2 separate regions of the Homo sapiens genome follow, and region 1 is linked to region 2. The links are contacts of gene promoters, found by promoter capture Hi-C in human tissues and cell types (Jung and others, 2019). All regions are on one chromosome and are shown on one strand. The core of a region is centred on a gene start or on the middle of the fragment in contact, and the rest is flanking DNA. Distances in the headings are between cores, read along the strand shown. Region 1 overlaps EPHA5 (EPH receptor A5). Region 2 holds the start of EPHA5 (EPH receptor A5).

Region 1 (2,700 bases), core at 31-2,530, 56 kb before region 2:
GCCAATGTCCAGAAGAGCTTTCCATGGTTTTGCTTAGGATTTTATAGTTTCAGGTCATACATTTAAATCTATAATCCATCTTGGGTCCATTTTAATAGACAGTAGAAAATAGGGGTCCAATTTCATTTTTCTGCGTATAGCAATCCAATTTTCCCAGTACCATTTATTGAATAGGGTGTCCTAATCTCGGTATATGTTTTCATCAACAATGTCAAAGATCGGTTGGCTGTAGGTCTGTGACTTTATTTCTGGGACTCTATTCTGTTCCACTGATCTATCTGTCTATTTTTATGCCTGTATCATGCTGTTTTGGTTATTACATACTTGTAGTATAATTTGAAGTTAGGTAATGTGATGCCTCCAGCTTTATTCTTTTTGCTTAGAATTCCTTTGACAATTTGGGCTCTTTTGAGAGGTCATATAAACTATATAATTTTTTGTCTAATTCTGTGAAAAATAGTGTTGATATTTTTTATAGGAATTGCATTGAATCTGCAGATTGCTTTGGGCAGTATGGTCATTTTAACTGTATTGATTCTTCCAATCCATAAGAATGGGATGATCTTCAATTTGTTTGTGTCATCTATGGTTTATTTCATCAGTGTTCTGTAGTTTTCCCTGTAGAGATTTTTTTAGCCACTTAGTTAAATATATTAAGAATTCCAGTGCTTCTCTATTTGAGATAGAAGTAAATGAACAGCCATATGTCTATTGCAAATTCCTCCTCCTGGATTTTGTTAAGCTTGTGTCTGGCCAAAAAGTTAATATCAACCAAAAGCATACTTTTGAATAAATGTATACCTCACTTATGGAAGTTTAAAATGTTTAGTGATAGCTCTCCAATGACAATTCTAAATATTTAGTGTTTATGTTTTTTGATCATTAATTGAATGCAAATTTAATTCTGACCAACATTAGACCATAGAAGTTTACAATAGGGATTGACTATCTGAAGACAGTGATTGATCAACATTTACAGAATTTTTTATCTATCAACAATCGATATATTTTGTTGCACTTTAATATTTTACTTGAGAATTACTATAAAAACAGATGTTTCTACGAATGCCAAGAATTCTAGAAAAATATGATATATTTACAGATTTAGTGAAGTTGAAACATTAAAAAAATTAAGTCTTCACATTTATTATTCCTACTGGCGTCTTCTGTCAACTTGTTCCTTGTCTCACTATATTGTCCCTTAATTATTTTGAGGCCTGTTGCTTAGGTTATCAATCACAGATGGGAATAGTAAAATTAATTTTTCAGTGTGATTTTAGCCTTAATATTAAAACAAGCTGTTAACTGCCTTTTTCTCTGCTTATCAACACAATCCCTTTTGCCAATGTATTCTCATAACAGAAAACATACATAGAGCAAATGCAGATAACCAGTAAATCTAGTTATAGTAAAGAAACAGAATGTTTTAACATAATATCTTAGATATTATTTCATACTTTTACATCTATTTGTATATGAGCAAACTGAACTCTTGATATGATAAGGAAGCTATGCATAGAAGGTAAATGTCCCTGACCTCCCTTTATTATTCTGTTTGCTGTATCTGATAGTTTGTCAGCTATGTAAGTCCATCCTTTAGCAAAGATGGATTAGAGGGCTCCTGGATATCACAAGCTCTTAATAATATTTCTTCACCCTACTTTGGCTATTTATGCTAAATATAGGCTAATGCTTCATACATTTAACTGACTGTTTATTAGGAGAAAACCTGGCAGAAATTGAATCAAGTGATATAAAGGCAATAGGGAAGAAGTACTCTTCTATGCTCCTGCTGGGAGTATATATTAGTAGCCAGCTTTGGGAAGTGTTTGGAAATATATGGTGCATTTAAAAGTGTTTTAAACCTGGGATCTTTACATGATTCTAAAGATACATATGCCAAAGTAAGTCTGAAACACTGTAATGATCAAAAAGAAAGTACTAATGTCATCAACAATAGAAATAAATAAATGTGTTATATTCATGCTATAAATCATCATACAAGAGTTAATAGTAATTGTTATATGGAGTTTACAAGTATATAATAAAGAAAAATGTAAAATTTATAAAACAGCAAAATATACTTTACAAAGAATGCAATTATGCTAAATTGTGTTTTGTTACATTCATAACAAAGTGATAAAGTATAAAATGAACTGGAAAAATACACTAAATTCATTATCAGAAGCTTATAGATCTCTAGGAAAAATAAAATATATCATATTAACATATATGTAATGAAAGTCTCAAAAGAAGGAGTAAGAGAAAAAAATGGCAGGTACAATAGTTGATTAAATAGCAAGTATTTTACAAATTTGATTTAAAAACTTAGGTAGAAATACAAAATGCCTGCTGAAACCAATTGGGGTACATACAAAAGTTCATGCCTAGATACTTGAACATGATAAAAGCTAAAACATTTTTGAAAATTTTGAAAGCAGCAAGAGGAAATCAACTCAGTAGAGAGGAACAAGAATATGACAATAAGCTGACACCACAGATGAAACAATGAAGGCCAGAAGAAAATAGAATGACATAGTCAAAGTGCTAGAAAAACAATACTATCAACCAATAATTCTATATCTAGCAAACCTACCTTCCAAATGAAAGATCACTCAAAACTCACAGTAAAACATATAAAACACAAATCGCTGAGAAAGTACAGAAAATACATGAAAAGACAATACTGAAAAGTGTATA
Region 2 (2,700 bases), core at 120-2,619:
CGGTTTCTAAAAGCCCCACTGCTCCAGAGATCCTTGTCACTGAGCTTCCAACAGTTCCCACTCCTTCAAGCCCGAAATGTCACTTCCCCACGCGCCTTAAGTGAGGCCCAGCCGCACCCATCCCCCTGGAACGGGCCTCCATTCCCCAAAGGAGGCCTCGACCTCCTTTCCCCCAAGGTTTTCCACCTTCCCAGCCCCCCAACCAGCCTCTGTCCACACGCATGTTCCTTGCCCAGCACTCCGCAGCTAACGTCAAACAATGCAACCAAAAACCGCAGAGGGGAGCGAAAAGGCCAGTGGAAGGGGACGACAAATACCAATTTGAGATGAGACTGCGATTTAGTCTGCAGCAGCAGCGTCCAGCGCGCTGAGACCTGAACTCCCAGGCCCCGCCTAGCCCCTCCGCCCCAGGTCGCCACGGTCCCCACCCCCATCTCCCTACCTTCGTTGCTGGGGCTGGCCAGGAGGGTCCGGAGTGCGGCGCACAGGAGAAGGCACGTCCAGAGGGGAGCCCGTCGAGGTGCAGAGTAGCAGCCGGCCAGGGACGCTGGGGTGATGGGGGTGTCGCCGCCGCCGCTTGGGGGCCGCCGGCGTCCCGCACCCCGGGGCCCCGAGCCCCGCATCTTCTCCGAGCCTCCTCCGGTGCCGCTGTCCCGAGCGGCTCAGTCCACCGCTTCGGCCTCGCAGAGCGGCGAAGGGAGACTCGGGAGTCCTCCTTGTCCCCCCTTGGGGTCCTACGCCTTCTGGCACGCGGCTCCTCCAAATGTAGGAACCACGGATCCGGCTGAGACAGCTGAAGTTTGCTTCTGGCTCCTCTCGCCTCCCCCTTTGGTGGGGTTAAATGAAATATTAGTTCTGGTTGCTAGTGCAGATCTGGACTCGGATCAAGGGTGTCGAGAGGGTCCTGGGTCCTGTTCCTTTGCCTTTCAAAAAGACTTTTTACGGATTGAGAATTTTTAAATACCACTAGGGGAAAGGTGAAGGTTCTTTGCAGCCTTCAGTGTTGAAATGGACGAAGGTAAGGAAGGCAAATCATTTTAAGACGAAATCTCCGATTTTTTAAAAAAGGAGGAAAAAAGCAGGGTGGCTAAGGATAAAGAAAGAGGACTTGAGAAAATGTGGAGAATGAAAAACAGGAGAGCAGCGAGCAAAAGCAAAGATCCAGAGTTCAAAGAGACTGGCAGAAGGAAATAGCTGCGGGCTGAGTGCTGAAGAGGGGAGGGACTGACGGCTGCCGGCCGGTAGGAGCGCGGAGCTGCGCTGCGGCGGCCCAGGAGCTGCTGCGGTTCCCGCTGCTCGGGGAGCAGGCGGTGTGTGCGCGGCTGCGAAGTCGAGGTTGAAACTGCACCGCCAAGGCGCGCTCCTGCTGTGTCTGGAGCTCCGGCGTCTCCTCTGCCTCCCAGCTCAGCGCCTCCCACCCTCCTTCCCTCCTCCTCTTCCCAGCTCCCCCGCCCTCTGCTGCTCGCAGCCTCGCCAGTGAGAATCTACTGTAAGTGTGAGTTGCTTCGACGAAGTCACACACCCACGGAGGGAAGTAATCTGGAGGCTGCCTTGGTGAGTGTTGCCTAGCGGTCTCCGGGAAAGGCGCGTCTTCCTCCCGGGATAATTAGGGCAAGGAATCCTGACGACGCTGGCGAGGACTGGGGTTCCCGGGAGGCGGAAGGGAGATCAGCCCCAGCTCAGCCGGCGGCCCTTAGAGACGCGGGTCCCTCCGTTTGGCATCTTGCCTGCTGTCCCTCACAGGCTGTGGCATCAACAACCTTGTCGTCACATCGCCGCGCATTCGCAGGCTCTGCTGGTCCGTGGCTAGTTTCTTAAACACCCATACCGCTTACCGCTGCTGACTCTTTCTGTTCTTCCCATACTTTGATGGCTGGAATAGGATAATTACTCAATGTTTTCTTCAGAAGTAAATTGTAGAGTAAATAAAGAGGCGGTAGCTCTGTTTGAGATTTCAAGGAGTCAAAGAATTTGACTATTGAGATTTGTAGTGTGCCAGGTACTTTCATAGGTGGCGATTTAATTCATTTATTTCATTGATAAAATGTTTTAGTATTTTAGAAATTGGACGATATGCAGATACACGACATACATTCCAGTGAAATTAGCCTCGGTCAAATAAATTCAGGGTTTTGAAAAATTAATTATTTTAATTGATTGTGCCCTATAGCATTGGGAGATTTACAAACAGTGAAAAAAAAAACAGTTAAAACAATCAACTTTCTATGCTTCACCTCTATTATGTCTTTTCTTGCTTTAGTATATTCCCTCGATTTATTCATTCTTTCAAAGAGATACATTTGAAGGACAATTTTAGTACACAGGCATTTAAAAACAAAAGGCTGCAGAGAAAGCACTTACAGAAAGGTCTGATTATAGAAGAAAGATATCTCATTTAATTTCATGTATAGTAACCACTGTAAAGCTTGGGCTTCCGTTCACACCTAATAAAGGTGAGTCAGCTCACCAGTTTTGACATATCTAGAGCCTTGTTTGTCTCCACAATAAATTCCTCACTATCTTTAGCTGGTGACATTTGTTTTTTGTTTAAATATTTGCAATAAAGATGAAAGAATAAAGCAGCAGTGATGCAATTTTGTAAAGAGGTGAAAGCTCATCTTTGATTTCTTTTTTTCCTGAAATGTTTTGGCACCAGAAGTCTGAAAGCAGGTTCTTTTTATTATAATGTGCTCCGAATGG

The links. Contacts are between HindIII fragments. The study calls those that stand out against the background at their distance.
Region 1: a contact is called between a fragment that was not itself captured here and the fragment with the promoter of EPHA5 in region 2, in 2 of the 25 tissues and cell types used here (H1 embryonic stem cells and hippocampus).

What each region holds. Positions count from the first base shown.
Region 1 is chr4:65,612,955-65,615,654 of GRCh38, forward strand. All of the region lies in intron 2 of EPHA5 (EPH receptor A5), which reads right to left. Among named protein-coding and RNA genes, the nearest start is that of EPHA5-AS1, 56 kb to the right of the region's middle. The HindIII fragment of the contact is 4,614 bases long and covers 1-2,700 here.
Region 2 is chr4:65,669,120-65,671,819 of GRCh38, forward strand. EPHA5 (EPH receptor A5) reads right to left here and starts at 1,370. Exons shown (of 17, transcript NM_001281766.3): 1 at 443-1,370. The coding sequence starts at 623. EPHA5-AS1 (EPHA5 antisense RNA 1) reads left to right here and starts at 842. Exons shown (of 4, transcript NR_034138.1): 1 at 842-1,554; 2 at 2,657-2,700. The HindIII fragment of the contact is 8,453 bases long and covers 1-2,700 here.